Regions from separate parts of the Homo sapiens genome. Here region 2 is linked to region 1. The links are contacts of gene promoters, found by promoter capture Hi-C in blood cells and fetal thymus (Javierre and others, 2016). All regions are on one chromosome and are shown on one strand. Each heading gives the region's core, a stretch centred on a gene start or on the middle of the fragment in contact. The rest is flanking DNA. Distances are from core to core; before and after follow the strand shown.

Region 1 (5,515 bases), core at 1,473-3,972:
TAAAAATACAAAAATTAGCCAGGCATGGTGGCGTGTGCCTGTAATCCTAGCTACTGGGGAGGCTGAGGCAGGAGAATCACTTGAACCCAGGTGGGGGTGGCGGTGTTGCAGTCAGCCGAGATCGCACCACTTCACTCAGCCCAGGCAACAAGAGTGAAGCTCCATCTCAAAAAAAAGAAAAAAAATAATCACTTTCTCCAAGAAAGGAAAGTAAAACAGCTAGCTAGCCCTTTGGAACACAGATGGGAATTTCAAGTTCAGAGCCATTTTATCCAATAGTGATGCATTTAGGATATGTTGAAAGTTTTAAACAACTTTCTAGTAACATAAGGCTCTCTCCTACAAACATTCTCTGGACCAGCAAAGCCACCAAATGCTACAGCTGCTTTTTAAAAATAGTTTCATTTTACTTAAACAAAACAGACTTTAAAAAATTAAGTTTTCAGGCCAGACGCAGTAAGTAGTTCATGCCTGTAATCCCAACGCTTTGGGAGACCAAGGCGGAAAGATCACCTGAGCCCAGGAGTTCGAGAACAGCATGGGCAACATAGTAAGACCCCATTTAAAGAAAAGAAAAGAAAGAGAAAAAATTAGCCAGGCATGGTGGCATGTGCCTATAGTCCCAGCTACTCAGGAGGCTGAGGCAGGAGGATCGCTTGAGCCTGGGAAGTTGAGGCTGCAGTGGGCTGTGACTGTGCCACTGCATGCCAGCCTAGGCAACAGAAGAAGCCTCTGTTTCAAAAAAAAAAAAAATTTTTTTTTAAAGTTTTCTACTGAAAAATGAATGCTAGGTTAAATGACAAATGTGGACTGCACATGAGTTGAAGACGAGCCAATTCCTTTCTTACATTCTCTGTTCTAAAATCTGGTATACTGTAATCACCACCGTGATGTAAATCTCAGCCCAAACTTCAGCTCCTAATGGAAAATATGCACTACATTACTGTCATTAATCATTTTTAAATCTTCACTTTTGAAAAAATAAAATCTCTTTTTTCTAAGCTGCTTCAAAGAATTCTTGAATGTGTATGAACTTGGCTTAATGTTGCCGTAATCCAACTGAAGGACATCTTAATCTATTTGATGAAACAGTAGTTTTGTACCATGAAATTACTCTTTCGCTTCCGATAAATGTGGTATGAAGTAGACATCTAAAATGGAATGGAAATTTCTGTGGTTTTCTTTCAAGGCCACACCAAATAACCAAACTTAGACTCTTCAGGACAGCACAAATTAGAATAATCTGAAAATAACTTAATCTACAATTCACTGCCTACTTTTGATGCTGAGACTACTGGAGACATTGTTTCAGTAATCAAGTGACTGAGAACAAGCTGGATAAATGCATGTTAATGAAATGATTAGGGAATCAGAAATAGGAGAGATAGTCCTTCCAAGACATACATCCGAACGGGAGTCGATGCATACAAATGTGAAAAGAAGGCTAGAGGCATCTACAAAGCAGCCTGCTGCATTTGCCGACCACCTCAAGTACGAGTGACCCCGGGCTGCACCTTGTTTAGCTAGGAATACCGGCAAGCTGTTACAGCTGGACGCCTAGTGGTGGGAGCTTACTCTCGGGTGTCCACATTTAGAAGTCTAACAATCAGACCTGGTTTCACGTGCTTTGGTGCTACCCAGGTTTTCCTTATAATGGTTAGCACAAAACAAGGGACCCAGGTTAGCGATACCAGGAAGCCACGCATTGAATGACATTACAGAAACAGCCACATAAAAGTCAGGTGGATGGTGTCACCTTGGCAAGCAACTTAGCCTCTTTAGGCCTCAGTTTGCTCATCTGCAAAATGGGGATAATAATAGCTTTTTAGTAGAATTGTGAGAATTAAGTGAGATCACGTACTAAAGCCCATAGCACAATGCCAGTTTCAAGGCTTCTGAAGTCCATAGGTGAAATTCGCTGGCTTGGCAGGATCTAAGACAGCATAAAGGTCATGGTATATTTGTTTACAAGTTCTATAAATTGCAGCACCGATGCTTCTCGACCAAGTATTTACGTGGGACAAAGCTGCCATCAGCGGTTTCTCCAGAGCCTATGTTTTGGGGCTTTTGTCCCCATCCCCTCCAGGAGTGGAGCCGCCAACACAAACCAAAGGGCAATCACTGGTTTCATCAACAGGTGCAAAAGAAAAGGCGCCAGGCACAGGGTCAGGCCGGCTAAGTCAACACCCCGGGATCCTCATGAATACGCAAAGCGCCCCAGCCGGCTATCCAGCAACCATATCCTCTGGCGGCGCGGGCCGGAGATCCCCGTGGAGGGGCGGCCGGCCTCCGTGCGCCACCGGCCCAGCCAGAGTGCTCTCTCGAGTCCCCAGCCCCACTTCATTCAAACAGCCACCCCTCTGCGCGCGACCCCTACGCCCCGGCAGTCCCAGCGCCGCCCGATCCCCTCGGGAAGGGGGGGTACCCGTCTTCCCGAGGCTGGGCGAATGCGGGCGCCCTCTCCTCCGGGCGTCGCTGCCCCCGGCCCGGACTCACCCAGCGTGGCCACCGTGCCGGCCTCGAACAGCAGGCAGTCGTCGCGGCCGCGCGCCTCCAGCAGCACGCTACAGTCCCCCTCGGCCCCCAGGCGCCCCAGCAGCCGCAGCCCTTTGCTCAGGGCCATGAGGGTCGGGCCCACTGCGGGCGGGGGCCGGGGCCACGTCCTCCCGAGGGCGCGCTGCCCGCGACAGCTCCCCGCGCGCCCGCAACTTGCCAGAGTTTCACTTTGCGCCGCCGCTCCCGCCGCGCCAGGCTCCTCCCCGGCCTCCTCCCCTTCCTCCTCCTCCCCACTCGCGCCTCCCCAGCCTGGGGCAGGTGAGGGCGCGCCGCCGCCTCCCGCCCGGCCCCGCGCTCCCCCCAGCGGCCAGGCAGCTGCGCGAGGCCGCGCCCCGGGGCTGAGGCTCCCCGCAGGCGGGCGTGGAGCGGAAGAGCCTCCCGGATGCCACGCATTCCTCGCTGCGGAGGAGGATGCCCCGCGCGGGGCGACCCCGGGAGCCTGGCTGCGATGCCGGCCGCCCGCAGCCTTATATGGGCAGCCCGGCCCGGGAGTCCGCCAGGCTGGACCCGCTGACTGTTCCCGCCGGGGGCGCTGCGCCTCCCTGTGTGGTCGGCTCCTGCGACCCTGGACGAGTCCTTTCGACCCTGCGTGCCTCGGTCTCCCTGCGGGGAAGCGGGGTCATAACTGCGCCTACTTCGGCGCGGAGGCCTGAGTTAATTCGCGGAGGCGCTTAGCGGGTGCGGAGCGCGTGGAGCGGGCTGGAGAAAGGTTACCTTTCACTAGCGTTCTATCCCGGAGGCTGTTGCGGTCACCGACCCCGCCAGGGAGAGGTGTTGGGGGTCAACGGTGCGTTGTCGCGAAGAGACCTGGAGCCGTGATCCCCAGACCACGACCCCCACTTACCACGTGACCCTGACTTCTCTGCGCTCCACCTTCCTCTCCTGTCAGATGGTGACAGCGCCTCTCCCACCGGCTCTGGACACCGGCACGTGTCCGCGCGTGTACGCTGGAGTGTGTGGCCCGGCCTTCTGGCGCGGGGTTCTAGCGCCCAGGCTTGGCCTGTCAGAGCTGCAGGGGAGGTGGGGTGGGTATGGGTGTTTAGGGCTGAGTTGGAGTCACTCTTTGGGGTGGTTTGGCGGCTTAATTCCCTTCGCTTGTGATGGGTACGTGAGGATGGCCCGAGAAGCCTCCATCAGCTGTTTCCATCCTGCCCGCAAACGAACTCAGTTCCTCTCTCACCCCATTCTGCTGTACTGGGCCAAGCTGTTTGTCTCTGGGACTTGTCCTAGAAAGGGCAGAGCCCCCAGAGCCAAGCAGAACACTGCCATGCCCCTGCAGACATTCAGTAATGACCAGACAAGCCATCCTCAGGGGACAACCTCTCAGGTGATGGTTGGGTAATAAATTTGAACAACCCCAGCAGAGATTATCTTGACCCTTAGCCCCTTTCCTTGCCCACAAACTCTGCCCAGGTCAAGCATGATGTGCTCAATATCCCAGGCATGATGCTCATCAGCTGTCCGAGCAGCTTCTTTCTGTGTAGATGGAAACATTACTACCTCATGAAAACAGTGTGCCCATTCAGTGAGGCAGATCAGCCTTTGGCCCACTTTTTGACCTGAAACTCACTTCTTCCAGGAAGCTTTCCTGGAATGCTGAGGTCCCAGATAATAGTGCTTATATAACACCCAGATTTACAGACTTCAGTTCTCACCTACTCATATGTTGCTTGAGAAGTGTTTTTATGTTTTCTCTTAGCCCTGTTTTGCAAATTGAGTGGTAAGGCCTTAGGGAGGGGACCCAGTCTTCCATTTATCTCTCTCTCCTCTTTCCTAACTAGCATCATATAGTCTAAAGTCCTGCACAGTGGCATGCCATACCTATTTTAGAAATTTTCCTGCAGTCAGGACCAGCAGTTGAGCCTCACAGCTTATAGAATCCAAGTCACCATCAACTGTAAAATGAACCACTATTTTATGTACCACTGAGAAAAAAAAAAAAACTTCCAATTAAACTAGAACATGCCACCAATAGTCATCTCTGCCCTGATTTAGACAATGTTAAAATGCACGTCTCAGACTCAAGGAACTACAGTGGCTGTTCCTCCGTCTCTGAGAAATGGCTGGGTGAGCCAAGAGCCTGCTGGGTTTTGGGGCCTCTGCTGTCTGGTTTCAGGTGGGACAGCCCACCTGGGTGGCAGAGGGAGCAGCTTCCTCACATGCGCACTGGCTTGATAGACCAAGGGTACCCAGGCACAGGCACCTTTCGCAGATGGAGCAACTGACCTTGAGGCCTTCAAGGAAAAGGTTGGCTCAGACACCTAAACCCCCAGCGGCGTTTGGGCAAAGGGGTGGGCCCATCTGCGGCAGGAGAGTTGGGCGCTTCCCCTCTCTGAGATGTATAATGCCTGGAGGGTAGGGAATTGGGAAGGGGAGGAGATGGGGAAGGAAGCAAAAGCCAACTCCACCAGCCCCAGAGTAAGCCACAGCAGGAAATGTAGCTCAGCGTGGTGTGGGTGAGGGAGTCAGGAACCCCAACAGGTTATCAGAGGAAACAAAGAGGGGAAGTAGGGGAGACATGCACTGAACGTTTGAGCCACCCTATCCCCACCCCCTGTTGCCCTACCAAATCCATATGTTGAAGCCCTGACCCCCAGTGGAATGGTTTTTAGAGATGGAACCTTTAGGAGCTCGTTAGGGTCAGATGACGTCATGCCAGTGGGGCCCTCTCAATAAGAATGATAGGATTAGTGTCCTTAGAAGAAGAGACAGGCCAGGCGCGGTGGCTCATGCCTGTAATCCCAGCACTTTGGGAAGCCAAGGTGGGTGAATCACTTGAGATCAGGAGTTTGAGACCACCCTGGCCAACATGGCAAAACCCCATCTCTACTAAAAATACAAAAAAATTCACTGGATGTGGTGGTGTGTGCCTGTAATCCCAGCTACTCGGGAGACTGAGGCAGGAGAATCACTTGAACCCGGGAGGCAGAGGTTGCAGTGAGCAGAGATGGAGCCACTG
Region 2 (5,515 bases), core at 1,444-3,943, 230 kb after region 1:
TTGCAAATTTCCTGAAAATTTAACCATGAGTGCTCCTGGGCCCATCAGGGCCAGCTCTAGCATGTCACAGCCTGGTTTGGCTCTCAGGCCCCATCTTTGCATGGCTTCAGCTAGATGTCATGGTCCCCTGCCCGCAGCCTGCATGACTCAGAATTCCTACCAGCCAGGGCCGTGTGACTTCTGACGTCCAGGTTGCCAAATTCAATAGGTAAATTTCACTCCTTATTCTACTTGGCCTCCCAGAGACTCCTGTCTTTTGAAACTCTCAACACCATCATTGTTCCTTGCTATGATTTTAAACCTTCTCTGAGGGCACAGGTTCCTCTGCTGGCCCTTCAGCTGTTGGTGTTTTTCAGGACCTGAGGTCTTCTTCCACTGTCCTCACTGGGAACGTGAATGCCGCTGCTTCCCAGATCCCTGCCTTCAGTTCAGGTCTCCCTGTTGAACTCAGGTCTCATCTGTGCAACTTCCTGCTGCACAGCTTCCTGTGACCATCTCTCAGGCGTCTCCTACTCAACAGGTTCCATCATCCCTACCTGTCTTGCTCACGCAGGCATCCATGCTAGCGTTCACCCCATAAATACTTCTCAGACACCCATTACCTGCTAGTCACTACACGTGCTGACCATACAGCTGTGACTCAGCCACAGTCCCACCCTCATGGGGCTTATCCAGGGGACATGGTGTCACCATGTGCCCAGTGACCCCAGCCAGAGCCTTCAGTCATCCTTACCCCTGACCTCTCCCACTTACCATTGTTTAGTTGGTAGATTTGATCTGTTCTTCTTCCTGCCCAACTCCGGAAGCCTCCCCTTCCTCTGCCCCCACCAAGAGTGTCTTTTCCCCAGGCCCTTGTCATTTTGCTCTGGGATCATCGGGAAGCTCCTCACTGCTCTCCTATCCCCAGACTTGCCGCTCTCGAATCCATTCTCCATGCTGCTAGAGTAATGATATTTCTGAAATCACATTTATGATATTGCCATTTCCCTGTATAATATTCTCCCAAAGACCCTCATAGCATTCCATGTAACATCTAGCCTCCTTGGCATGGTAGAAAAGGCCTTTTAGGTGACCTGGCCTCATCTGCTTCTTTTTTCTTTCTTTTCTTTTTCCTTCCTTCCTCTCTTTTTTCTTTCTTTCTTTCTCTCTTTCTCTTTCCTTCTTTCCTTCCTTCCTTTCTTCTTTCTTTTCTTTTCTTTTTTGATAGGGTCTTGCTCTGAAGACCTTGGAGGCTGGAGTGCAGCAGTGAGATCACACCTCACTGTAACTTTGAACTCCTGGGCTCAAGTGATCCTCCTGCCTCAGCCTCCTGAGTAAGTGGGACTACAGGCATGCACCACCATGGCCGGCTAATTTTTAATTTCTTTTTGTGGAGACGAGGTCCTGCTATGTTGCCCAAGCTCCTCAAACTCCTGGCCTCCCCATCTGCTTCTTAGTCTTCTTGTTACCATTCCTCCTGAGACCTACGCTCCAGCTGTGGGGACATTTCTCAGGCCTACCCCCTATGCTGGTGCCAACCCCTTCACCCAGAATCCCTCCACCCGACGCCAGCCCTAGCCCCTATTCCTTTCTTTGATTGCCTGCTCCTAGTCATCCTTCAAAGCTTGGTTCAGCTGCAAGCTTCCCAGTATGGCTGTGCAAGGGGCATTGCAAAGAGGTGGAGGGTGCCCTGTGCACATCTGAGGTCACTGTAGATTATGACAATTTTCTGGTACATAGTGATAAAATGAATGGTGCCACTGAGGTCATCAGCAGGGCAACTTCTGTCACTTCCTCCTGGAAATGTTCACTGGCCCTCCCAGTTTGCGTTGGGTGACTCTTCTCTGTCATGGCCATGTCATACCAAACTGTGACTGTTTATTAGTATCCATGCTCTTTTGGAGGATGAGCTCTTGGAGGACAGGACCGTGTCCTTCCCTTCTGTATACCTGGCACAAGAACTGATGGGCAGTCCGTGAAGGTTTGTTGAGTGAATGAGCGTGTCCCCGGTAACAGAGTGCCGTGGATAAGGCCCCAGGATCCTGAGTTAGAATCCTGGTGCTGCCTCTCCCATGCAGGGTGACTTAGACACAGCACTCCACAAGTAGCCACCCCATACCTCATACAAAGAGTATGGGGCTCAAGTGAGAAAGTGGCTGCCAAGCACTGAGGGAATGCATGGTGATTCTTACGACTGAATATTTTCCAGTGCTGAAGCTGCTTCTGTGTTGTGCTTCCTAGTCCACTTTTCTGGACTCCCTCTCTCGGTTTGTTTATTATTATTTTAATCCTCCTGAGTTTTACTAGAGAGGCAGCACCATCTTGGTAAATATCTTAACTGCCAGCTCCTGGTGGGGGGAGGGGGTGGAAGTTGAAGTGGAATTCAGTGCAGTGATGTGTGAGATAATGGAACACACACACATTACAGCTAAAGTCCAAGGGAAAGGCTGTCAGAATTAGCTGGATTCTCCCGGCGTCCTCTCTGCACCGGGGCTTGCGATCTGGCCCTCGGCCGCAGGTTGGCACAGCCTGCTTTGTTGCTGAGATGCCCAGTTTCCTCTCGCTCCTGCCCTCTGCTGGCCGGAATCAGATTCTTTCCCGCATATTTGACTCTGTTGCCTCTGGGGATCCGCCTGGGGATCCGCCTGCGTCTCGGGGGCCTGGTTTTCTTTGCTTATTCACTTGCTTGCTGGAGTGTCTATTCCCTGCTTGCTGCATTAGAAGCTATGGGGTACACAAGTGATGCTGGTCCTCAAAGTCCACCTTCAAGGAGCAAGAAATTTGGATAATCTTGGAGAAGCAGAAGCCAGGACCTCAATCCAGAACTCTGTGCCTGGAGCAATGAAGGAGTTATTGTCCCCAGACATGGCACACCAGATTGCAAATTTATAAAGACAGGGAATCATACTTATGTAGAGCTTCGCAATTTACAGAGCACCAAGACATACATTTTCCAATTTAACTCTTTTTTTTTTTTTAGACAGAGTCTCACTCTGTTGCCCAGCTAGAGTGCAGAGTGCAGAGGAACAATCACAGCTCACTGCAACCTCCACCTCCTGGGTTCAAGCAATCCTCCTGCCTCAGCCCCCCAAGTACTTGGGTCTACAGGCACTTGCCACCACGCCCAGCCAATTTTTGTATTTTTTGTAGAGACAGGGTTTCACCATGTTGCCCAGGCTGGTCTTGAACTCCTGACCTCAAGTGATCTGCTTACCTCAGCCTCCCAAAGTGTAGGGATTACAGGCATGAGCCACCATGCCTAGCTAATTTAACCCTTTCAAGCAAACCACTGAGGATGGTATTAATGAAATAAAATAGAAATTGTGTTGGGAGACTGACATTTACTGTCATCAGATGTGATTACTGGCAAACATCTTGTTAGTCAGCTGATGTTATGTCTCACCTCAAAGGACACACTTGATGGGTGGGTGGGGGAAAGCCAGTAAGCCAGGAGTTTCAAAGGAACACTGTGTGGTCTGACCCACACTGTCTTTCCGTAGCATCTGAACTTTCTGTCCCTGCCTCTCCAGCAATGTCTGAGAAGATCAAAGTCTGAGGAGACAGATGTGACTCCTGGAGAGGCATCCAATGGGTAGTTCTCCACTTCTGCCTTGCAACCGTGATCCCAGAAATTCTGAAAGGGCACTTTTAGGATTAAAAGCATTTAGCTTCGTTTCTTCCTTTGTAGGAATGGAAAATCAAAATCACTCTGAAGTCGTGGTTTCTTTTAAGATGCAAAACAACTCCTTTCAAGCCATTGCTTTTAAATCTCTCACATTCAAGCTTAAATCAGTGAGTGACATTGTCACCGTATAATCCGACTGAGTTAAATCGAATAGTGGGAAAGTGGCCTTTTCTTTCTTTAATCTTTGACAAAATAAGGCAAATTCTAAAATTATGCCCAACAGTCTATCAGTAGTCTTTGTTGTTCCACATGTTCAAAGAGAAATGTCTATAAACTCTCAGCTGGTGTTTTTCTAACCCGGAGGCATTCTCTTCCCTACCAGGAAGGGAGGAGTGACTAACATATGATGCTGAGAGAGGCCACTAGGAAAGAGATGGCTGAGAGGGAGAATTTCTCCCGGTGTCAGAGGCATGCGAACCAGAGCAACTCCATCTTGAATACAGAGCTGGGTAAAATGAGGCGGAGACCTACTGGGCTGCATTCCCAGACTGTTAAGGCATTCTAAGTCACAAGATGAGATAAGAGGTCAGCACAAGATGCAGGTCATAAAGACCTTGCTGATAAAGCAGGTTGCAGTAAAGAAGCCGGCCCTATCTCACCAAGACCAAGATGGCCACGAGAGTGACCTCTGGTCGTCCTCACTGCTACACTCCCACCTGCACCATGACAGTTTACAAGTGCCATGGCAATGTCAGGAAGTTACCCTGCATGGTCTAAAAAGGGGAGACATGAGATTCACCCCTTGTTTAGCATATCATCAAGAAACAACCATAAAAATGGGCAACCAGCAGCCCTCGGGGCTGCTCTGTCTATGGAGTAGCCATTCTTTATTCCTTTACTTTCTTAATACACTTGCTTTCACTTTATTCTATGGACTCACCCTGAATTCTTTCTTGCACAAGATCCAAGAACCCTCTCTTGGGATCTGGATCAGGACCCCTTTCCTGTAACACCTGCACTGCTATTCCGACCATAGTCTTGGATGCTTTGAGGTTGTGATAGCTGCACAGGTGAGAGGGAGAGCCCTCACTCAGAAATTTTGCTCTCGAAACTCAGAGGCACAGAGCAGACTTAGGACGTGCTGATGTCCACGCTCACAACATGCATGTTGCTCAGTTCATACAATGTGTGACGCACGTCAGACAGACCCACCTTCAACAAAGCACTTTTATGTCTCAAAACAGGAAGCATCCAAAAAATGCAGCCACCCAACTGCTTCCTTCCAGTAGAATCCTCCTCTTGTCCAGGTTTCTATCCTATCTGTGCTTCCCATTTTCTGTCCTAGAAGTGAAACTGCCTTTGCAAAATTATGACTGAGACAGTGAGAGAGATCTAACTTAACCGACTGCATCTTGCTTCTCACCTCCAAGCTGTCTGTGTTCATTCCTGGGCGTAAGCTGAACTAACTTTGGGAGAAACTTAGTTTATAGTTTAAACAAAGACACTAATAGCTCTTTGCCAAAGCAGACCTCCTTCTTGCTTGGAGACTAGATTGCCTTTGTAGGACTAACATTAGCCACAAGATTAGAAATTATGATTTAGGAGTCGTGCAGCTGGAGGCTACAAGATTCTGACCCTCCCTAAACTGCTCCTAGAAATCAGTGCTTGAGATATATTTGCAGACCCTGCACTTGATGGATCAGCTGGCACCACCCCATCAATAAACTGGCTCACCTGATCTTGTGGCTCCCACCTAGGAACTGATTCAGCACAAGACAGCTTTGACTCCCCATGATTTCATCTCTGACCAACCAGTACTCCTGGCTTACTGGCTTTCCCCCACCCACCAAATTATCTTTAAAAACTCTGCTCCCCAATGATCAGGGAGACTGATTTGAGTAATAATAAAAC

The links. The method cuts DNA at HindIII sites, captures the fragments that hold promoters and counts their contacts. A CHiCAGO score of 5 or more calls a contact.
Region 2: a fragment that was not itself captured here is called in contact with the fragment with the promoter of SYNJ2 in region 1 in 4 of 17 cell types (endothelial precursors, activated CD4 T cells, fetal thymus and 1 more); the score reaches 6.7 in endothelial precursors.

What each region holds. Positions count from the first base shown.
Region 1 is chr6:157,979,070-157,984,584 of GRCh38, reverse strand. It overlaps SYNJ2 (synaptojanin 2), which reads right to left and starts at 2,722. Exons shown (of 27, transcript NM_003898.4): 1 at 2,497-2,722. The coding sequence starts at 2,623. RefSeq lists enhancers at 2,441-2,956, 3,157-3,206, 3,227-3,416, 2,957-3,472, 3,437-3,486 and a silencer at 2,457-3,036. The HindIII fragment of the contact is 11,440 bases long and covers 1-4,141 here.
Region 2 is chr6:157,753,860-157,759,374 of GRCh38, reverse strand. No RefSeq gene overlaps it. Among named protein-coding and RNA genes, the nearest start is that of SNX9, 67 kb to the left of the region's middle. RefSeq lists a silencer at 3,764-4,058. The HindIII fragment of the contact is 2,142 bases long and covers 1,623-3,764 here.